Linked DNA regions of Homo sapiens: regions 2, 3, 4, 5, 6 and 7 are each linked to region 1. The links are contacts of gene promoters, found by promoter capture Hi-C in human tissues and cell types (Jung and others, 2019). All regions are on one chromosome and are shown on one strand. Each heading gives the region's core, a stretch centred on a gene start or on the middle of the fragment in contact. The rest is flanking DNA. Distances are from core to core; before and after follow the strand shown. Region 1 holds the start of ADAMTS16 (ADAM metallopeptidase with thrombospondin type 1 motif 16). Region 2 overlaps ADAMTS16 (ADAM metallopeptidase with thrombospondin type 1 motif 16). Region 3 overlaps ADAMTS16 (ADAM metallopeptidase with thrombospondin type 1 motif 16). Region 4 overlaps LOC101929200 (a long non-coding RNA gene). Region 5 overlaps LOC101929200 (a long non-coding RNA gene). Region 6 overlaps ADAMTS16 (ADAM metallopeptidase with thrombospondin type 1 motif 16). Region 7 has its middle 120 kb from the start of LINC02114.

Evidence for each region. The method cuts DNA at HindIII sites, captures the fragments that hold promoters and counts their contacts. A contact is called where the count stands out against the background at its distance.
Region 2: a fragment that was not itself captured here is called in contact with the fragment with the promoter of ADAMTS16 in region 1 in 5 of the 25 tissues and cell types used here (dorsolateral prefrontal cortex, heart right ventricle, liver and 2 more).
Region 3: a fragment that was not itself captured here is called in contact with the fragment with the promoter of ADAMTS16 in region 1 in 1 of the 25 tissues and cell types used here (lymphoblastoid cells).
Region 4: a fragment that was not itself captured here is called in contact with the fragment with the promoter of ADAMTS16 in region 1 in 1 of the 25 tissues and cell types used here (adrenal gland).
Region 5: a fragment that was not itself captured here is called in contact with the fragment with the promoter of ADAMTS16 in region 1 in 1 of the 25 tissues and cell types used here (spleen).
Region 6: a contact is called between a fragment that was not itself captured here and the fragment with the promoter of ADAMTS16 in region 1, in 1 of the 25 tissues and cell types used here (thymus).
Region 7: a fragment that was not itself captured here is called in contact with the fragment with the promoter of ADAMTS16 in region 1 in 1 of the 25 tissues and cell types used here (ovary).

What each region holds. Positions count from the first base shown.
Region 1 is chr5:5,139,018-5,142,241 of GRCh38, forward strand. ADAMTS16 (ADAM metallopeptidase with thrombospondin type 1 motif 16) reads left to right here and starts at 1,313. Exons shown (of 23, transcript NM_139056.4): 1 at 1,313-1,522; 2 at 1,647-1,749. The coding sequence starts at 1,451. It overlaps ADAMTS16-DT (ADAMTS16 divergent transcript), which reads right to left and starts at 1,037. Exons shown (of 4, transcript NR_109915.1): 1 at 939-1,037. ADAMTS16-AS1 (ADAMTS16 antisense RNA 1) reads right to left here. Exons shown (of 2, transcript NR_198969.1): 2 at 3,121-3,224. RefSeq lists an enhancer at 519-1,085. The HindIII fragment of the contact is 9,507 bases long and covers 1-3,224 here.
Region 2 is chr5:5,315,463-5,318,727 of GRCh38, forward strand. It overlaps ADAMTS16 (ADAM metallopeptidase with thrombospondin type 1 motif 16), which reads left to right. Exons shown (of 23, transcript NM_139056.4): 22 at 2,672-2,819. LOC101929200 (a long non-coding RNA gene) reads right to left here. Exons shown (of 6, transcript XR_001742583.3): 4 at 1,700-1,742. Among named protein-coding and RNA genes, the nearest start is that of ICE1, 110 kb to the right of the region's middle. The HindIII fragment of the contact is 6,242 bases long and covers 1-3,265 here.
Region 3 is chr5:5,288,760-5,292,035 of GRCh38, forward strand. All of the region lies in intron 18 of ADAMTS16 (ADAM metallopeptidase with thrombospondin type 1 motif 16), which reads left to right. All of the region lies in intron 5 of LOC101929200 (a long non-coding RNA gene), which reads right to left. Among named protein-coding and RNA genes, the nearest start is that of ADAMTS16-AS1, 110 kb to the left of the region's middle. The HindIII fragment of the contact is 4,931 bases long and covers 1-3,276 here.
Region 4 is chr5:5,334,777-5,337,737 of GRCh38, forward strand. All of the region lies in intron 2 of LOC101929200 (a long non-coding RNA gene), which reads right to left. Among named protein-coding and RNA genes, the nearest start is that of ICE1, 86 kb to the right of the region's middle. The HindIII fragment of the contact is 7,492 bases long and covers 1-2,961 here.
Region 5 is chr5:5,355,097-5,358,144 of GRCh38, forward strand. The region is part of intron 2 of LOC101929200 (a long non-coding RNA gene); the gene reads right to left. Among named protein-coding and RNA genes, the nearest start is that of ICE1, 66 kb to the right of the region's middle. The HindIII fragment of the contact is 4,299 bases long and covers 1-3,048 here.
Region 6 is chr5:5,268,214-5,271,297 of GRCh38, forward strand. The region is part of intron 18 of ADAMTS16 (ADAM metallopeptidase with thrombospondin type 1 motif 16); the gene reads left to right. The region is part of intron 5 of LOC101929200 (a long non-coding RNA gene); the gene reads right to left. Among named protein-coding and RNA genes, the nearest start is that of ADAMTS16-AS1, 94 kb to the left of the region's middle. RefSeq lists an enhancer at 3,082-3,084. The HindIII fragment of the contact is 3,475 bases long and covers 1-3,084 here.
Region 7 is chr5:4,888,710-4,891,982 of GRCh38, forward strand. No RefSeq gene overlaps it. Among named protein-coding and RNA genes, the nearest start is that of LINC02114, 120 kb to the left of the region's middle. The HindIII fragment of the contact is 3,596 bases long and covers 1-3,273 here.

The sequences.
Region 1 (3,224 bases), core at 63-2,562:
GTGAAGATCTGCAGCTTCACTCCTGAGCCCAGCGAGACCACGAGCCCACCGGGAAGAACGAACAACTCCAGAGGCTCTGCCTTAAGAGCTGTAACACTCACCGCCTAGGTCTGCAGCTTCAATCCTGAGCCAGCGAGACCACGAACCCACCAGAAGGAAGAAACTCCGAACACATCTGAACATCAGAAGTAACAAACTCCAGACGCACCACCTTAAGAGCTGTACCCACTCACCGCGAGGGTATGCGGCTTCATTCTTGAAGTCAGTGAGACCAAGAACCCACCAATTCCAGACACACTATGGGCTCACAGCGTGTACTCGCGCACACGCAGTCAGGTGTGGATGTACACCCGCGCACACCCAGGCACATGTACACCCGCGCGCTCACACACCCCATCCAGCTACAGCAGAATTCTGGCCAGGCTGTTGACCGCACACCTGCTGCCTCCTTGGCCACCCTGTCCACACAGTAGCCCGATCGACCCCCGTGGCGGCCGAGACCCAGGCCCATCCGCAGCCCTGAGACCTCCCTAGGGATTGCACCCAGCAGCCAGTCACCGGCCTCCGCGGCCTGGCCAGTTGAGGGTGGCCGTGACCGCGGGGCCAGGAGCGCCGCCACATCTCGGGGCAAATGGCGCGGGGGAAGAGTTTCCTCCTCAGCCTCCCCGTCTCCGATCGCTCCGCAAACTCCAGAGCGAGGCACGCGCCTTTAAAGGCAGGTCCGCGGCTCTCCCACGTCCTGGCGCCCGGTTTTCCGCACCCAGTGTCCCCACAGCTGTGCCCGGGCACAGAGGCGCGGCCAGACCGCACTCCGCGGGCTGCAGGTGTCCCGGCCTCTGGCGGCGCCGGTGCGGCCCGGAGGTGGGAGCCCGCGGAGCCACTGCAGTAGCTGGAGTCCCGCCGAGTCCCCAGCCCCAAGGCAGGGCAGGAGCGCGCACCGGCCGGAGGTCCATGCTGAGCATCGCCCGCGCCGGTGCCCGGCAGCCTCTCCAACTGTGTGGTCCCCGCGCGGGCAGAGAGGCACGGACTGCAGGCCGTGGGCAGCTCCATCTTCCCGCGTCCTCCTCCTCTGGCGCTGCCCGCTGTCTCCCGCCTTCCCTCTGCTCCCCGCTCGCCTCCGCCTCAGCGCCCCGCTGACCTCGCCTCCTCCCCTCTGCTCTTTGTCCCTGCACTCTCCCCTCCTCGGTCCTCTGACCCCCCCGCCCTCACCTCCTCCCCTCCTCTCTCCCCTGCCCGCCCCGCGCTCTCCCACCGCTCCCGCCGCCCCCGCCGCCGCGGCTGCCACTCCGCCCCCCGCGCCGCACGGAGCTTCAGTAATAACCCCGGCGCGGCGGCGGAGTCGCTGTGGGGAATCCTCCCGCGCTCTGCCTGGGTCGGGTCCTCCCTGCCCGCTCGCACGCTGCCGGCCGGGGACCCTCCGGTGGCCCCTAGCCCCTCGGAGCGCTCCTGGATGAAGCCCCGCGCGCGCGGATGGCGGGGCTTGGCGGCGCTGTGGATGCTGTTGGCGCAGGTGGCCGAGCAGGTGAGTCCCGGGCGCTCCCACCAGCGCGGAAACCGCGGGTCCGGACAGCTGGAGGCGAGTCCCCCGCGGCTCCTCTCCCGCGGACCCCGCCGTCTCACCGCGATGTCGCCGCTGTTTTCCGCAGGCACCTGCGTGCGCCATGGGACCCGCAGCGGCAGCGCCTGGGAGCCCGAGCGTCCCGCGTCCTCCTCCACCCGCGGAGCGGCCGGGCTGGATGGAAAAGGGCGGTAAGTCCGTGAGGTGGGGGCTTCTAATCCTTGCCATTTAGCAGCTCGTAATCTCCGTGCCGCTGGTTTATTAGGTGCTGTGAATGTTCACGACTCTGTGGAACCCTACTTTTAAGATGCTGTTGTGAACTTTTTTTTTTTTTAACTGTATGAGCGAGCCCCGATGAGTGGATTTCCACCAATATTTACATTTTATTCCCTGGCAAAACGGTTTGCCAGAGTTATTGATATAACATTAGGAAAAAGGTGAGGAAGTTCATTTTATTTTATTCTAAAGAGCTTAGGAAGAATCTAAAGCTATTAATGTATGCATCAAAGCCGTCATAAAGAGCAAATTACTTTCTTTTCCGTCCCCTTCTACATCCTCGGATCCTCCTTCCCGTCCCCAACCTTTCCTCCTTCTCCTCCTTTATAGATTAAAATATTCCTCTATCGTTGCTTATTCTCAGTGAAGGAGATAAAAGAAGCGCTTAGCATCTCAATACCAAAGTTAATGCTCCAACAATCAGGGCGTACTTCAAACATAATAGTGCCTGAAATGGCTAATCAGCTGATTGTGACACCATCAGCAACGTTCATATCCTGGGCCACAATTTGACATGAGGGCAAGTCTTATTCTTTTTCAATGCATGCTTTTACTTCTGCCACTTACAAGTGACATTTGGAAATTTGCTGTCTTATGGAAAGGGATCTCTGTGTCTTCATACTGCATCAGGTAAATGAGAACGCAGGTGTGTCGCACTGGTTGCTAGGTGGTTTTTTAACCTGAACCCATCCAATGACAGTTAATAAATATTATTTTGCATTGTTACCAACAATAAATTGCCGTATCAAATGTTAATATTAATTGACTTTTATAGGAAGAACTAGGTTTCATTCTCTCAATGTATTTCCAGAAGATCTAGAAAATTAAAGTTAACAATTCAGAATTTCTCAGTATAGTTATTTCAATTTGATAAAATAACATAAAGGCAAGCACTTAATATATGCATTAACTTTTGAAATTATTCCCTGCCAAATGAGTACACAAATAGTATATAAGGTGACCGGTGTCAGATTGACGCTCACCATAGTACCTTTTTGAGAACCACCAGGGGGCGCTAGGTGCAAATGATATAAAATGTTAAAAAAAATTGTCACAGTGAATTTACAAGAGAAAGTTAATTATCTGTCCATTTACAGACTATCCTCTTGTGGTTGTCCTTGTCCTTTTTAGGGTTTTGCTTACAATACTAAAAGTTAATTCTTACAATTTTAAAGGTTAATTCTAATTCACCTTTTTAAGTAAGATTTTTGTAAAAAAAAAAAAAAAAATTCTAGTTCCCTAAAACCATGAAAATTCCAGAGGGACTCAGGAGATTTCCACAATAGTTTATGGCATTTATGAAGTTTTATTTAAGATAAAACACATTATAGACACAGAAGAAAGAAGAAGAAAAGCCAGGGCTTCGTGCCTAAGTGTGCTTTTCTCCTAA
Region 2 (3,265 bases), core at 252-2,751, 180 kb after region 1:
CAATGGCTAGATCTCTTGATTTCTAATTGAGGCATATCTTAAGCAAGAATGGAATTCTGCCTGAGCCGCTTATCATAAAATAAATCTAACTCAAGAAACGAAAGATGTTGTGGACACTGATGGATGCGGATGTGGCCAAAGGGTTCCTGTGAGCTGCTGTCTCAGCAGGGTGACCACAGCCCCAAGGTTCTCGGCGCACTGTGTGAGCTAAGAGGGTGTCTGGAATGCAGACAGCAGAGAAAAAAGGCAGAAATGTGGTTCTGCAGAATGTTCCGAAAGATGTAATAAGTGATGGGCAACATCTGGCTCTATCCTTGTGACCCTGATAATTCTGAAATCAAACGTGAATCTCCCCACATTATTTTTTCTACTTTCCGTAGTCATATATTGTTGGCAACTTTTTCTAAAATTGGGTTTGAAGCAAAGGGAGTAAGCCTCCCAGATAAGTTCCAGACACATGCTCAGGGGCTCAGCCATTCCTCATCCAGAGGGGAAAAAAACAGACAAACAGTTTCAGCTTGTGACTTTCAGGGCCATTTGTGTCTCCAACTTTTCTCCTCTCAGTGGGCAGATAAAGATGTTTGACTTGCTCCATCACTGAATCCCATCCCCAGCGATTTAAGTCACTTCGTAAAGCTCTGATTGCAGGAGGTCCCAGAAAGGTTCAGTCCCTGGTTGTTCACTTGCAGGCTGGTTTGGGCTGTGGAGAACCAGCCCCAGGCCTGATGCCTTCACTTGCTGGAATGGTCTCTGACATACTCTCTTGTAGGTTTGGGGCAGCAAAGGGAGTCATGCATGTCCCCAGTTTTTCACAGTGTGATCCTTGCATTTTAAAGCAACAGTTTTGTTGTTTTTTTCACCCACCATGCACCAGGACTTCCAAAATGTTATCTGACCCAATCTTCTTGCAGGTGCTCCTTTAATTGCTTACATTTCCAACATATTCCAACCCTAGCCTCGTTTGAGCACAATTTACATGATTTAGTCTAGACAGTGGGTAGTTTTATTTTTCAGATGACTCAATCACAGATTCCAGTGTCTCTGTATCTTTAGCTGCCTAACCACTGATTTATTTTCAGTGGTTGATCTCAGATGGGTCCTGCTCATGTTCTGTGGCATGTGCATTATGCCAGCTCATGAAAGATAATCTAACTGAGCTCACTCCCTTCCTTCCCTCTCTCTCCCTGTGCTGTTGATACTCCAAGTATTGGGGGAGCCTCAATAGGATGCCAACACCTTAGCAAAATAAGCCCCAGCAGCTGGCAGTGCCCACCCTCATGCATCAGGGGCCTGGGAATGTGGGTGATGGTGCCACTGTAAAGATTGGCTTGTCAAGCTTCTCCCCGTCGGACCACCAGAAAGGGTGGCTTGTCAAGGGCATTCCCTGAAGGGCACTACTTCTTTCACGCTAGGCTCAGAGAACAAGCCTGGTATCCCCAGATATGCACCAGTTTCCTTGTGGCCATGCAACCATCATTGACACACTCAAAAATACTCTAGACTTCCAGACACTTCTCCTTCTATCCATACCTAGATTAATTTTGGCCAGCCACTCACAGTTGTAGACAGAGAGACCACCTCAAATGGTCTGGGTGGAGGGGCGGTGCTTTCAAATGCAGAGGCAAGAGGAAATGAGGGGTTACCCCAACCAGCAGTGACAAGGGCTGGTCCTGGGGACAAGAGTTAGGGAAGTAAGTACCTTTGCGCCAGGTCCCAGGTGGTAACATCAGCAACCGTGTTCTCTGAAATACCGTAAATAGAAACCAAGATGTTAAGTCTTTTCATGTTTTTCAATCAGAAGGATAACTTGTAGGTAACTTTATTGGCAGGGGGATCTAAGTTTGTTCTTCCTTGCTGCCTGTAATTTGAGGAGATAATATGCCAATCCATGAATATCAGCTTTTTTAATCAGTATACTTACTTACTTACTTACTTATTTATTTATTTTTGAGATGGAGTTTTGCTCTTGTTGCCCAGGCTGAAGTGCTGTGGCATGATCTCAGCTCACTGCAACCTCTGCCTCCCAGGTTCAGGCGATTCTCATGCCTCAGCTTCCCAAGTAGCTGGGATTACAGGTGCCCACCACCAGGCCCAGCTAATTTTTTTTCTTTTTTTAATAGAGACGGGGTTTCATCATGTTGCCCAGGCTGATCTCGAACTCCTGACCTCAGGTGATCCACCCGCCTCAGCCTCCCAAAGTGCTGGGATTACAGGCATGAGCCACCGTGCCCGGCAGTATATTTACTTTTTTAAAAAGTGAACTCAGCCCCCACAAAGCCCAAGCCCGGGAACCGTCTGTTGAGACTATAGAATCCAACTCTAGCGGTTCAAATCCCAGCCTGAGCAAGTCCTGTCACCGCTCAAGGCTCAAGGCTGTCTTCTATCTGAAAACAGGAAGGGTTCCAGGAGCTATGTCAGCTGGTTGGTTTGGAATGCTCTGCTAGAGGCCTGGCCCAGCACATGCCTGGTGCTTGCTTCTGGAAAAGGTGAGCAGGGACCGTGCTCACTCGCGCACATCGTGGCCAACCATAACTCCACCTGCCTCTGCGACTAAGTCGCTCTTCCCTCACTGGCCTGCAGCAGCAGGCCTTTTAGAAAGGTGGGCACACTGAGGTTGACCAGGTGCCTGAGAGCCTGGGGCCATGGTGACATGTGTGTGTTGCTCTCACAGTGCACGGCCAGCTGTGGGGGAGGCGTTCAGACGAGGTCCGTGCAGTGCCTGGCTGGGGGCCGGCCGGCCTCAGGCTGCCTCCTGCACCAGAAGCCTTCGGCCTCCCTGGCCTGCAACACTCACTTCTGCCCCATTGCAGAGAAGAAAGGTGAGTACATGGGGCCCCTCAGCATGACCTGGGCATGGGGCTGGAATGTCAGGTTTCTGGAGCAGTTCCTTGGGGGGCCTGGAGTTAGGGTCTTGCGTCTGATCTACCTTTTCTCTCTTTGCATCTTCTCCAGTTTTACAATGAAATGGTCCATAGAGCAGACCGGGCTGCCTCTCATGATGCCCCAGGACAACATAGATGGTAGTGACATAAGCGTGACTTCTTTCCTATATCAATGCTGTTCACTATATTTAAAGAAAGCAATCTTAACTAAAGCAGCTTTTCTCCCTAGGATAAACAAAAGCCTCCCTTATTCACTGGGTGCCCTCTAAATGCCATCCCTGTGCACACACAAAATCCCCCAGCATTGCGGAGACAGATGGCTGGGCGCCTGTTAAGGCTATTCTGAGAGATAATGTGGCTTGAGGAAGGCGAGTGGTTTGGCT
Region 3 (3,276 bases), core at 720-3,219, 150 kb after region 1:
AGCTGACAAGCCAGCCTTGTAGAAATTGTATTTATCTGGGAGCAATGCAGCATGGTGGATAAGAACCCAGGCTCACTGGGCTCCCTTCCTGATCCTGCCACTCCAGCTGTATGATGCTGACCATCAACGACCTCTGTGGCTGCAGACAGGGTCCTCGGTGTCTCTAGCCTCAGCTTCCTCGTTCATGAAATGAAATTCTAACAGCAGTGCCCCATAGGGTTGTTAAGTGGGCTAATGCATGTGAATGGGTTACTTGGTGTGTATGTGTGCTTTAAAAGGAACCAGAACTGGTCATGAGAGTCCAGGCCCTGGAGCTGGGCTTCCTGGGTGTAAATTCCATCTCACACCACTTATGTCACCTTTCTGCACTTCACTTTTAGGAAATAATAGCATCTGTCCACATCATTGGTTTGCAGGGAAAATTAAACCACTCAACAGATAATAGAAAAAAAAGCTTAGTGCCCTGCCTAGCATTTGGTTTGTCCTCCAGGGGCACTGATTCTGCGTGGCTGTTAATAACCAAATTCATACACTACATGTAAGGTGCGACTGGTTTGCTTTCTTACTTACTGCAATATTTGAAGCCGTCTGCATAAGCTTCATTTCACCCCTTTAAGATTTGCAAATATTTTGTTAGAACTTCAGGCTTTAATATGTGGGCTTGTTGTTGTTTGTTGTTATTGCTGTTGTTTCATTGTTAACATTCCCAACAATGGGGTCATTTGTCCTAATCTCCTAGTAATCCATGATAGCTAGGCTCAACATAGGTATCAAACTCCAACAGGTCTATCTTGTAAGGTGTCTTGGGTGCTGTAAAAACACTAGTTGCTTTCTGGTTTTTACAGATATGTCCAGTTCGATTATTTATAAGTAGAATTGGTTAAATCAGCAGGTGGCAACCTATGGCCTGTGAGCCAAGTGCAGCCTGCCATACCTGATTGTGTAAATAAGGTTTCATCAGAACAGTCAGGCCTATTCATGTACATGGGGTTTCCAGTGGTTTTCTCACTGATGCAGCAGGGATGAGTCCTCACAGCAGAGATCTCCACCGGCCTGAAATATTTACTATCTGGCCCTTTAATAAGATACTTGCCAACTTTTGGGCTAGATGAAAGCATCCTCCAGCAAAATGAGTGTCTTAATCAAAAGTGCTGTCTCTACATCACCTTTCAATCAGGGCAAAATAGCAGTGTTAATGGCATGGCAGCCAAGAATTTCCAAGCAGTTCAGAAAACCTAAACCTAGTTTCAGTCTACGGTCATCTCATTATTAGCATGCAAGTATCTTTCATTGACTTAGATGATGTATTGTTTAGTACATTTATCTTCTCAGCGATTTAGGAAACATATTTCCTTTCTCAAGAAAATGGCTTGTCTTCAGGATAGCAAAATCTCCTGAGGTAAAGAAGCAAGTCAGATCTGAAATCATCAAATCTGTGTAACCCACAAGCTTGTGTTCTTGCAGCTGGCTTTCACCGAAACTGTATGAGGAAGACATTTCCTAGTCAGCTGTTAAAATGTCTAAACGAAGTCAGTGGTCTCACGATCACAGTCCATGAACTTTGTGGCAGAAGGGCCACTTCTCCCCTGGGAATGTTAATAAGGTGTTGCCTAGGCCGGGCGTGGTGGCTCATGCGTGTAATCCCAGCACTTTGGGAGGCCGAGATGGGTGGATCACCTGAGGTCAGGAGTTTGAGGCTAGCCTGACCAACATGGTAAAACCCTGTCTCTACTAAAAATACAAAAATTAGCTGGACGTGGTGGTGCATACCTGTAATCCCAGCTACTCAGGAGGCTGAGATGGGAACTTGAACCAGGGAGGCAGAGGTTGCAGTGAGCTGAGACCGAGCCTTTGTACTCCAGCCTAGGCAACGAGAGCGAAACTCCATCTCAAAGAAAAAAAAGGTGTTGCACAAAATAGAGGCGCTAAAATTCTTGTTTCCATGCTGCAGTGGGCTTCAGCAGCTTCTCTTGGGAGTTAATCAAGTTTTTAATATCATTTTTCTGTTTGAAATGAAGGATTTGTAAGAGGCACTGGCAGTCTTTTCTTTCCCCTTGTAAACTTTCACTGTGTAGGACCTGAAAGGCCTGTTCTTCCCGCTGTGACCATTTGCTTTCATTCTCTCCCCAGACGAGGTGGAGAACACCTGTGCGGGCTCTTCGGGCGTCACTGAGATGGCGTTCACTTTCTTTTCGTTAGGTATAAATAAATCCATCCAGTACAGTTACCACCACTTGGGAGCATTGTTTTCTGCATTCTTTCAACCTCCCCATTCTTCTAATTTTAGAAATTCTAAAATTTCTCAATAGTTCTCATAAGAGTAAATATTCCAAAATCACATAGTTCCATGTGATGACCATATCATGACATCATTTTTACCAATGCCGGAAAATCACTGAGAGGCAATACAACAAAATTAATGTCTGTGTCTCTGTGATTTTTTTTTTAATTCGTATTTACCAGTCAGGTCTTTGTTGATTTTCAGAAGGGATGTATATAATAAGTATAAAATAATACTGCTATAGGAAAACATGGCTTTCCCTCTTGTACACAGGCTGAGGGACTGAATGTCTGGAATCCTGTGGACCACATGTGAATGAGCTCCCTTTCCCAGGTGAGGGTTGAGGAGGAGAAGAGGCAGGGGACAGGATGAGGAAGAGACAAAGGAATGAAATCATGATAACCACAGCCAGCCCTTCCCGAGCACTTCCTGTCTGCTAGTCCTCCCAGCCTGCCCAGCACTGCATAGAAAAGCTACTGTGACCATCTCCCCTTTGCGGAGGAGAGAATGGAGACATTGGTGTCCCGTGATTTCCTGAAGGCCGTCCAGCTGGCAAGGTTGGAGCTGAGGTTGGAACCCAGGCATCCTGACCGCAGAGCCACGGCTTCCCCACCCCCCCACCCCCACACCACAAGGCCTTAGACACAGAAAGGCTGTCCTCGGGCAGTCAGCCAGCCAGGGTCATGGACCAGGGCAAGACTTCACAAAGAACTTTGATTTGTGTTGCCCTGTTGGTGCCTGGCTATAACTTTATGGATTTCTACATCCACAGGCAAAAGCAAATCTGCTGAAACACAGGTACATTATGGTGAGCCCAAAAGGAAACTTCTAGTGATGTTACTATATTTAGGAAATAACATAGCTCTGTATATGTGAATTGAGGAGGGTGACGTTCATTGTCAACTGGTCAACAAATGTTTAGTATTTTGCATGTGCTCAGTCCTGTGAGTTTCACAGAGGCATTGATGAAATGTCAAATTATAAAGCATAAATTC
Region 4 (2,961 bases), core at 29-2,528, 200 kb after region 1:
CGCACTGGGCTCCCACAAGCCCAACACCCTTATCCATTCTTCTCACCCCCAGTCCCTCCACAGGACATCAAGGGGTCCCCAGCACATTTTCTTCCTGCCATCCACACAAGAACAACCTACCTTTCACCTTTGGTCTGAATATCCTTAGACCTGGCTGAATTTACTTTTAGAATCTCAGAAACGCACTCATTTAACCGAGGAAGTAATTTAATGAGGAAGGAGCCCCTTTTCTCAATAGAGTATCTAGTCCCAAGAAAATGAGGTCACTGGCACAGTGATGAAGGATCCGTGCTGCAAACGCACCTGGTTCTCTTATGGATGGGAGCGCGTGGTGAGATATTTTCATTTCAGCCTGAGTGCTTAGCATTTCTCCTCAGCTTACTGAAAAGAGATAGAAAAAGATGGATGGCTCAGCCTAGAAGACCAGGGCAGAGAATACTGGGGCCTCAAAGAAGAGTCTCTGTCCAGTAGCAGATGGTGTTTCATTGGCTGAGGTATCTGACACTCCAAAGCTCTCAGGCAATAAGTCTGCCAAAAATGAAAAGATGAGAAACTTCTTCCTGCCTTCCACAAACATCATAAATGGGCAAATATGTGCAGAGTAGAAAAACAAAGATTATCTTCCAAATAGGTCCCAATTTTCTTGCAACTTAGTTTGGTGAGGGTGGAGGTCAGGAATTATTGAGAAGAGAGTAAATGTGTATGTTTGAACCATATTTCCTTGTCAATGAAATAGCAAATGTAAAGATGATTAACAAATACTCAGTGTTTAATAAGGATTATTTGAAATTAAGTGGGTGGCCCAAATTATGTATTTATGCACACAAAACCATGGAAAAGGAGAAAGACCTATGCGTGGGAAGCTGGTATGCTGGATCTGGCCTCCCCTTGAAAAGTAAATAGATAAAAGACATAAAAATACTTGGAAAAGTTGAAGCTGTATAAAATGTAAGATACTGTTTTGATAGAGTCATCTATGACTCAGTCATGATTAATTACCATTTTAAAAGGATTATCTTAAGCACACATCTCAGACCTCCTTAAATCACTCCTCGGTTGCTATCTTATGACAAAGGAAAACAAAACTAATCATTGAAGATACCTTTTCTTTTCTCTTCCTCAACTATGACATCTTACAAACCAGGGTTAAATGAACAGTGAGTACGAAAGCAGCCCCTGAGTGTGCATTCTTCTTTCATGCAAAGAGTGCTTTCAAGTAAAGAAAATACCTACTCTCCCTGGAGTTTTAAGCTGCTGTGTGCCAGGAGTCCCCATCCCTGAGGTCATGCTTTGGCTTTAATCACATGAGACATTGTTTGCAGACGCTGTCAGGTCATGGCACTCAGGGACTAGTGTGCACACATTCCTCGAGCCTCAGCAGTTCTGTCCTTAACACCAGGACCACAAAGTTTGTGGTTTCTAGGGTCACAAACCCCAAGAACTTTTCATTCCAGAAACCTCTCCAGGAATCTCCTTCAGTTCCTGTTTCTCTTTGTTTTCCTGTTTTTTACCCAGGTCTATCCACCCTAAGTCACTTGAGACATTAAAACTTTCCAATGTCTGGTAACACCCTGAGGTTAGACAATGTTGTTCTCAAAATCACAAAGGCTAAAAGCACTGGAGGCTGAGTAAGTGTTTAGATAAATTCATTTCACCTAATTCATCAATAACTTTGTCTGAGTTCCTACTGGTGCTACCTAGGTTGAAGAATGAGAAGTGTATAAGCCAATCCCTGTTCTGGAGTGGCTTTCTAATTATATTGTGGAAATAAGTTTTCCAAATTTGAAGCCGCAAGCAGCTACCATAAGAGCCTGCATAAATAAGCATGGAAATTGACACGTTGATTTTAAAATCATGGTGTTGATGTTGAGTTTGGGATGAGGGTGGGAAGAGGAGCCACTTATCTGATTAGGAGGAACTCGCTGAGGTCTGGAGGCAAAAAACTCTCCAGGCTGATGTCACAACACAAGCACAAGAAGCAAAATATCAAAAGTACACGTAGGCTGTGTGAACCATGTACACCGGCTAAGTGCAGGGCCAGGATGGAGGGCAGGAGAGGGGCTGAGGAGGAAGGGTACCTTCCCACAGGAGCCATGGAGTCAAGGCTGGAACCAATTCTAAGGATGAACTGAGACTTGCCAGTCAGTGAGAGAAGACTGGACCATTCAGGAAGCCAAGACAAGTGCCATGGGCAGCACAGGGAGGAGGGACGAGGGTCCTCCTCAATGATGTGGCAAAGGACTGAAGCCGGAATGGGAAACAGGAAGAGAAACTAAGAGGTAAGTCACCAGAAGTACGGAACATAAAGAAGACCCCATGAGCCCTGGATTTACTGCCTGAGCGCCTGAGTCATGGTGCCGGGGGAAGGGGAAAGGTAGGAGCCTGAGAGACACAGGTCTTCCATCTTAGAGGCAGAGAGGCCAGGTTGGGCCAACCGTCAATCTAACTCTTTTCCTTCATGGATCCTAATTCTGACTGATTGTGTGACAGATGCTTTCTCAATAATTACTAAATGGAGCTTTTGGAATTTTTATGAAAGCTAATATAGTGTTTTTCTTTAGAAGCCAAGGTGTCCCAAAGTAGACATCACTGCAGTGGGAGCAGGATCATTCTCCACCATGAGCGAATGTTCTGGTGGCCCACTGTGGGGTGGTAGGTGCTGCATGCCTCTTCTCCAAACGGAACACTAGGCGGGCCTGCCCTCCATTAGCAAGGACAAACTAGAACAGCATGTGCATTCCCTATGCTCCCTGGGGGTGGGGGCAACACCCCAGGGGGAGCCACAGCCAGGTCATTCTGCCAGGGGAAGATGTACACACTGCCAAGATGAGCACGGCCTTCCATCTGCGCAGACGAACGTGGGAGGGGGCACGTGAATCAAATCGGTAATTATACCTCAGTGTAGAAAAATTCACTCATAGAAGCATGTAAAATACCAATTCCAGAAGCCCAATCGGCGCA
Region 5 (3,048 bases), core at 421-2,920, 220 kb after region 1:
AGCTATTTAAAAATTACTTTTCATCTTAGATTACTCTAGAGAAATGCTTGCCCAGTGAAGCCTAGAAATCTGTGAGCCCTTTAATTTTAGACCTTCGATTCATTGAAAGGAACTATAACCTAATAGTAAACATTAATGTTACCCCCTGTAGGATAAAGGTGGGGGGTTAACATTGGACTTAACTCATAGACTGTTTTTTTTTCTTTTTGCTTAGGAAAATAAATTGCTTCATCTTATTGCTACAGTTTGATAATAATATTGATGACACAATTTTATCAGTCAATGTGTTATACTATTAATCTCCATTCAGATTTCAACCATAACTAACAGCGCTTGGTTATGTATGACTTTCTCATATGCCCTCAACATCGATAAAAATTGGTTTCTCCATGGCAAACCCAGGCCTAGCCTGTGGCACAAATCGTGTTTACTGAGCCACCACAGGCCCCAGGGATTCTGGGATGGTCCTTAACACTCCAGGTGGAGTGAGGAACTGCCGGTGGTCCCGGCCAGAATCACAGCTTCCTTCCAGATTGCGTTCTTACTCCAAGAGCTACACTGCTAAGGAGAACAAGTTAGGCCACCTTCTTGGATACCCCCATTTCCTCACCAGCCCTAAGGCGCTGGTGTTAGACACCAAAGGAATGTGGTGTCTTCAGGCACTCTCCCAAAGCTCCCTCCTCAGTTTCTATTCTACATTTCTCTTAAACGCTTCAAAGTGAATGAATCGACCTGAGAGAAGAGAGTCAAGCTGTGTGAGATACACCTCATAATATGTAATTCCTTGCACTATTTCCCACAGCAGAAGGAAAATCCAACTCACTAATGTAAGAAAATAAAGACATGAACAAAAGAATGAAGGAATGAATGAGTGGCTGGCTGGATGGATGGTTGTATTTACGAAACGTCATTTTCTAACAAATCAATTTTATTTTGTTTAATATGGCCAAAATATTTGGAAGTTAAGGTCATAGAGGTTTAAATTACACAATTAGCAGAAATTTGAGGCCAAAATTAGTTTTTACTTTTCTTTGGAAATCATTTCACCAAAGTACACAATCCCTCCTGGAATGATAAATTAAGTTCAGTGTTACTAATTCTGAAAAATATGCCAATCCCTACTGAGGTGTTGTAAATTATTTGTAAAGTCTGTGGATTAGATGTGCATTTTCATTTTTTTATTTTAAGTTCCAGGGTACATGTGCAGAACGTGCACGTTTGTTACATAGGTAAACGTGTGCCATGATGGTTTGCTGCAACTATCAACCCATCACCTAGGTATTAAGCCCAGCGTGTATTAGCTATTTTTCCTGATGCTGCCCCTCCCCCTGCACACCCCCCGACAGGCCCCAGTATGTATTGCTCCCTCCCCGTGCATGTCCATGTGTTCACATTGCTCTGGATGGAGCTGGAAGCTACTATCCTCAGCAAACTAACACAGGATCAGAAAACCAAACACCACATGTTCTCACTATAAATGGGAGCTGAAAGATGAGATGTGCATTTTTAAGTAAAAATCCAATTTTTCAGCAATGAAGTAGAAAGTGTGATTATGTCAATACTTGTGTTTGTGTGTTTGTGTTTCTATAGACCTCTTAGAAATAATTTAAAATTATAACATTCTATTTATTTGTAGAATAAAAAGTATAATTAGCCACCTTGTGTGTCAAGCCTGAAGATTTGAGAAATTTACCTTCAGAAAGAAGTGATTTTTTCCTACCTTAAGTTTGTCACATCCTGGAAATGCCTATCAAAGTGAAACTTTGGACTATTCTCAAGCCAGAGATCACAGGCACTCTAGAGGACAAAGAGGTTGGTGTTTTTGAGAAACCAGTGTCAACTATACTCACTGAAATCATTAAAAATGTAAACAGCCTCTGATCATGACACAGAAACTCACTTTTGGACATGGTATAGCCCCACACCTAAAAGCAAAATAAACCAGCCCAAAATACACAAACATAAAGCACAGGGTCACCAAGGAGCCACTAAAGGATTTCTTATCCTACTCCAGATCATAAAAGACAGAAGTGAATGCAACCTTACCTAGGGTTGGGGACCTCATCTATGCATGAGGTCCCAGCAGCCAAAGGACCCTGGGAAGCATCCAGGTTACCATAAAGAAAAAAAGAGATAGCTTGGAGAACCAAGCTGTCCAGACAATACCAAATATTATTACCTTGACTAATAAAATATTTCTCTCATCACATTAAGATGAGTGTCTATATTCCCTGACGTTCCAAAGAGAAGATAACTGCAGCACATGTTATGGAATTAATATTTCAGGTTGTTTAATGTTTTGAGCTGCCTTTTTAAAAACTTTGATTGATCATCAGGTCAATATAAAGTTAAATCCCTTTGTATGCTTTGACACAGCCTGAGCTAAGGTCCTTATAATTGTGACTTACTTAAAAGGGGACTAACAACATACCTATGCTGGCGTCCTTCACGAGGGTGTTGACTGATGGTCATAGTACATGACAAGCTCAGATGTCAGATATGAGATATACGTGTCAACTTGCTTGCTTTATAGAAAACAGCGTTTCAGGGACAACATGCGTATATGACCAATTTTTTAAAGGCAAATCTTCATGTAAATTTGGGCCAACTATGTCCAACTCTTCCTGTGGGTGCCTGCAAGGGAGCCCTAGACCCTGAAACTACAGATGCTGTTTGGAAGCTTTGGTTAAGAACCAAGACTGAAGGTCTATCAAATCTTCAGATAGACCAAGAATGACTGAAATCCATTGGAGAATTCTGAGGACCAACACAGATCAACAGTAAGTATTAAATTGTTTTATTTCTTTAGCACCCAACTCTTCACTCCCAAAAACATCTAAGTTGTTTCTAAAATTAGGTAACAATATCATTAACACTAGCATAAAATGATGACAAAAAGATGAATAGTATTCCACTTGGCCTTTGGTATTTTTCTTTACAGGGGGATATCTTTCATTTACTTTCTCATCAAGACTTATATGGGTCCCAGGAAATGGATGGTGGCAACCTCAAACCAAGATGTTTGAGGGGTGCAACTGGAGCCCAGTG
Region 6 (3,084 bases), core at 468-2,967, 130 kb after region 1:
ACATCACAAAGCTTCTGGAATCAACTGTTCCTTAATACATCTAAACCACATTTGTATGTTCCCACGTATCTCCCATGTAAAGTATCTGCCTCACGTCAGCCTCCTTCAGGAGCTCCCCTGGGAGGACCCCAAGATAGGAGCATTTGCGGTATCCTTGACTCACCGTACGTAGCACTGCAGACGAAGGTCTCATCAGACGCTCGGTCACCACAGCTACTGCAACTGCGACTGCTACTGCTGTGGTCAGTTTGTCAACATTAAATCCACCCGTGGGATCCTTCCAACGCACCTACCTCTCTGTTCCTTGACTGTCCATCAAATGGTCTCCCCTGATTCGGTCTCTCACGCCTGCCATCAACAATAACTGCCCAGAGGTATCCCTCAAGGTCCATTTCTCCTTCCCGTCTTTGTTAATAGAAGCCGCTGCCCCATACACTGCATACATCCACCTGCACAGGGATCCCGACTGGACACTATTTCTGTCCTCCCAGGCTAAGGTCTGGCCCATGGGATGTGAGCCTATGCCCTCCATGCTAAGCCCTCAAGAGGCAGCTGCTCCTTCCTCTTTCTCTGCCCACCTCTGTGGCTGCAGCAGGTCCTGGCCTTAGTGAGCAGCTGCAGCCCCTCAGGCAGGGGTCACCTTCTAGGGGAGTAGAGGGCCAAGACGGAGGTAGTCGAGCCTGGTGACCTGGAGAAGGACTGCGCTCCCCGACCCCACAACTGCCCACCAGCTCAGACTCGCACAAAGGGAACCGCTCCCTCCCTTGTTAAGCCATGCCTGCTGGGTCTAGTTGGTGCAGCTCAGCCACATTCTGAGCTCATACACACCTCACCTGTGACCTCTCGGTCCTTAACACCCCTCTCCAGACAGGCCATGCCTCTTGTCATGCAGCTCCTATGCTTCAAGATCCACACTGAAGTTGTCCTTCTGTCTCACTGCATGGCTGATCGTCCCACCGCTCACTGCCCAGGACCCCGGAGCCCCCACCCAGGCCAGAGGCTGTGGCAGTGCTGGAACCCTCCCCTCACCAGCACCTGAGCTGCCTTGCTTCACCCTCGCTCCCCTATACTACCCTGGTCACCTCAGCCTGGATACCCCCAACTCTTGACCCACTGTGCACATGGAGCTCAGCAGTAAATGCTACCCCCAAAATCCCATGTTATCACTCTAAAAGTGTGGTCACCCAAGGATGGTACACAATCCTTACACCTGCCCCTGGGTCATTTGCTCCCCACCTCCCAGGACATTGAGTTCACATCACCTGCAATCTCCTCCATCTCCCTGCCCCACACTCTCCACCTGGGACCTCAGACTAAAGAGAAGGAAGCAATGACCAGCCCTTCCTCTTGCCAGAATCTCCCTGTGCCTCCAACCCCGCTGCTCTGCCCTCCCTCCCATCACAAAGGGCAGATGGTCCCGAGCCTCTAGAGGAGCCTTTGGAAGTTACTATTTTTTCCATATAAGTGACCCATTTCGCCCAGTGGTTCCTGTTGTTTTTCTGGCTGGGTCTCCTCTGCCTCCACCTCTCTACGCTTGGTCTTTCTGGTATTGAGAGATTTGGAGCTGAAGACATCCCTGCGTTCTGCTGTGTCCTATCTTCTACACTTGACTCTCTCAAACACGGTTTAATACACACATGCTGTCAAGAGCACTGTGTGCTGGAAGAAAAGGTGCAGTTCAGCAGCAGAGGGCCAGTCTAGGGGAAGCTGGAGCTGATGTGTCCTACAGCAAGTAGAAACATGAGACTGAGGCTGCCCCAAATCCACTTCAGTCAACCCTGGAGCCCTCCATCCGATGGCACCCTTTGACATGTGGACCTCCTATTTTGGAATGTTCATATTGCCCTCTGAAAGGGGAAACTTTGAGACAATACAGAAGCCTCTCTGTGAACCCAATGCCATGCTTTCCTGCCTGGGAGAATCTTAAGGAGAACCAAGTGGATCTCCCCGTCCATCGCCCACAAATAGCCAGGGCCTGATCGCACATGGAGCTTAGTAAATTTCTGTCTCACAGGAGAAACAAGATCTCCAGGCTCCCTTCCCACAACTCTCCTGCACTGGAATTCTTTCTATGGAGTGGTCTGGTTGCCATGGGTTATGTCCATGGGCCAGAGTCAGACAAAGGCGCTGGGCGGCATTGCACCTTGTCAAAGGTGCAGCCGTGACACTGCCTGCCTCCCTGGGCTCGACCCTGCCTTCCCCACTTCGGGCATGATCCAGGTCTCCTGTCTCCTAGGATAAGGTGAGGATTCCACGTAAATGCTCTCAGGTGTGATAAACACTCACTAAATCTTGGCTATGATTATTGTTGCTGTAAAAGGAGAAAGAAATTCACAACAGTTATGAATTTAGTCTATAAAGCAAAACTATCCATGGCAAAAACACAGAATAATGGACCTACATGGCATATGTCAACCCTTGGGGATTGTTGTTTCATTGTATGATTTTAACAATTGAGTTGGGAACATAGATTTTAATTTAAAATGTTGCTTTACTTTTCTTCTGAAATGCAAAATATATTTCTATTATGTCCTGGATACTAACAATTTTTTGTTCCTGATTAAATGTTCAGGAAACCCATGTTCCGTTTCTCTGAGGATGGAGTGTGCATCTTTCTTACTGAATTCTGCCTCCCTGAGAGGCTTCCCTGGCCTCTAGGCTGCAGGTACTCCGAGCTCTGTCCTCAGCAGCCTGGCAAAGCTGGAGCCACAGCCCCGAGGGAATAAGCCGCACTCTCCTTCCCCACAGTTCGTGCTCTGTCTGACACTAAGTGGGGCTCAGTGGGGTGTGATCTGATGTTTCATGTTCAACTTGAAGGAGGGTTCCACAAGGATTGAGGGGTGGAACCTGTAAAACATCTTAATCCACAGCCTTATCACTTTTAACTTAAATGAAAAAGGAAACCTGCTGTGCTGGCTGGAGCCCCAGCCTCCTCCTCAGCACCCAGAGGCCGTCCTGCAGCCTTGCAGGCTCCTGCAATTGCATTGCCAGATGGGATCCCCTAAGTCCTAAATCTCTGCAGGGGGCAGGGTGTTGGGTGTCTAGAAGTCTTCTTGCTGGAGATTCTCTTAAAATGGCTGTGCA
Region 7 (3,273 bases), core at 341-2,840, 250 kb before region 1:
AACATTTAAGTCTTTAATCCATCTCGAATTAATTTTTGTATAAAGTGTAAGGAAGGGATCCAGTTTCAGCTTTCTACGTATAGCTAGCCAGTTTTCCCAGCACCATTTATTAAATAGGGAATCCTTTCCCCATTGCTTGTTTTTGTCATGTTTGTCAAAGATCAGATGGTTGTAGATGTGTGGTGTTATTTCTGAGCCTTCTGTTCTGTTTGATTGGTATGTATATCTGTTTTGGTGCTAGTACCATGCTATTTTGGTTACTGTAGGCTTGTGGTATAGTTTGAGGTCAGGTAGCGTGATGCCTCCAGCTTTGTTCTTTTTGCTTAGGATTGTCTTGGCAATGCGGGCTCTTTTTTGGTTCCATATGAACTTTAAAGTAGTTTTATCTAATTCTGTGAATAAAGTCATTGGTAGCTTGATGGGGATGGCATTGAATCTATAAATTACCTTGGGCAGTATGGCCATTTTCACAATATTGATTCTTCCTATCCATGAGCATGGAATGTTCTTCCATTTGTTTGTGTCCTCTTTTATTTTATTGGCAGTGGTTTGTAGTTCTGAAAGAGGTCCTTCACATTCCTTGTAAGGTGGATTCCTAGGTATTTTATTCTCTTTGTAGCAATTGTGAATGGGAGTTCACTCATGGTTTGGCTCTCTGTTTGACTGTTATTGGTGGATAGGAATGCTTGTGATTTTTGCACATTGATTTTGTATCCTAAAATTTTGCTGAAGTTGCTTATCATCTTAAGGAGATTTTGGGCTGAGATGATGGGGTTTTCTAAATATACAATCATGTCATCTGCAAACAGGGACAATTTGACTTCCTCTTTTCCTAATTGAATACCCTGTATGACTTTCTCTTGTCTGATTGCCCTGGCCAGAACTTCCAACACTATGTTTAATAGTAGTGGTGAGAGAGAGGGCATCCTTGTCTTCTGCTGATTTTCAAAGGGAATGCTTCCAGTTTTTGCCCATTCAGTATGATATTGGCTGTGGGTTTGTCATAAATAGCTCTTATTATTTTGAGATACTTTCCATCAATACCTAGTTTATTGAGAGTTTTTAGCATGAAGCGTTGTTGAATTTTGTCAAAGGCCTTTTCTGCAGCTATTGAGATAATCATGTGGTTTGTGTCGTTGCTTCCGTTTTGTGATGGATTACATTTATTGATTTGCGTATGTTGAACCAGCCTTGCATCCCAGGGATGAAGCTGACTTGATTGTGGTGAATAAGCTTTTTGATGTCCTGTTGGATTTGATTTGCCATTATTTTATTGAGGATTTTTGCATCAATATTCATCAGGGATATTGGTCTAAAATACTCTTTTTTTGTTATGTCTCTGCCAGGCTTTGGTATCAGAATGATGCTGGCCTCATAAAATGAGTTAGGGAGGATTCCCTCTTTTTCTACTGATTGGAATAGTTTCAGAAGGAATGGTACCAGCTCCTCTTTGCACCTCTGGTAGAATTCAGTTGTAAATCTGTCCGGTCCTGGACTTTTTTTCGTTGATAAGCTATTAATTATTGCCTCAATTTCAGAGACTGTTATTTGTCTATTTAGAGATTCAACTTCTTCCTGGTTTAGTCTTGGAAGGGTGTATGTGTCCAGGAATTCATTCATTTCTTCTAGATTTTCTAATTTATTTGCGTAGAGGTGTTTATAGTATTCTCTGATGGTAGTTTGTATTTCTGTGGGATCAGTGGTGATATCCCCTTTATCAAATTTTATTGCATGTATTGGATTCTTCTCTCTTTTCTTCTTTATTAGTCTTGCTAACGGTCTATCAATTTTGTTGATCTTTTAAAAAAACCAGCTCCTGGATTCATTGATTTTTTGAAGGGTTTTTTGTGTCTCTATCTCCTTCAGTTCTGCTCTGATCTTAGTTATTTCTTGCCTTCGGCTAGCTTTTGAATTGGTTTGCTCTTGCTTCTCTAGTTCTTTTAATCGTAATGTTAAGGTATTGATTTTAGATATTTCCTGCTTTCTCTTGTGGGCATTTAGTGCTATAAATTTCCCTCTACACACTGCTTTAAATGTGTCCCAGAGACTCTAGTACATTGTGTCTTTGTTCTCATTGGTTTCAAAGAACATCTTTATTTCTGCATTCATTTCGTTATTTACCCAGTAGTCATTCAGGAGCAGGTTGTTCAGTTTCCAAGTAATTGTGTGGTTTTCAGTGAGTTTCTTAATCCTGAGTTCTAATTTGATTGCACTCTGGTCTTAGAGGAAATTTTTTGTGATTTCTGTTCTTTTACATTTGTGGAGGAGTGTTTTACTTCCAATTATGTGGTCAATTTTAGAATAAGTGCGATGTCGTGCTGAGAAGATTGTATGTTCTGTTGATCTGGTGTGGAGAGTTCTGTAGATGTCTATTAGTTCTGCTTGGTGCAGAGCTGAGTTCAAGTCCTGGATATCTTTGTTAACCTTCTGTCTCATTGATCTGTCTAATATTGACAGTGGGGTGTTAAAGTCTCTCATTATTATTGTGTGGGAGTCTATGTCTCTTTGTAGGTCCCTAAGGACTTGCTTTATGAATCTGGGTGCTCCTGTATTGGGTGCATATATATTTAGGATAGTTGTTAGCTCTTCTTGTTGAATTGAACCCTTTACCATTATGTAATGGCCTTCTTTGTCTCTTTTGATCTTTGTTGGTTTAAAGTCTGTTTTGTCAGAGACTAGTATTGCAACCCCTGCTTTTTTTTGCTTTTCATTTGCTTGATAGATCTTCCTCCGTCCCTTTATTTTGAGCCTATGTGTGTCTCTGCATGTGAGATGGGTCTCCTGAATACAGCACACCGATGGGTCTGGAGTGTTTATCCAATTTGGCAGTCTGTGTCTTTTAACTGGGGCATTTAGCCCATTTACATTTAAGGTTAATATTGTTATGTATTAATTTGATCCTGTCATTGTGATGTTAGCTGGTTATTTTGTCCAGCAGTTTCTTCATAGTATTGATGGTCTTCACAATTTGACATGTTTTTGCAGTGGCTGGTACTGGTTGTTCCTTTCCATGTTTAGTGCTTCCTTCAGGAGCTCTTGTAAGGCAGGCTTGGTGGTGACAAAATCTCTCAGCATTTGCTTCTCTGTAAAGGATTTTATTTCTCATTCACTTATGAAGCTTAATTTGGCTGGATACGAAATTCTGGGTTGAAAATTCTTTTCTTTAAGAATGTTGAATATTGGCCCCCATTCTCTTCTGGCTTGTAGGGTTTCTGCCAAGAGGTTTGCTGTTAGTCTGATGGGCTTCCCTTTGTGGGTAACCCGATCTTTCTC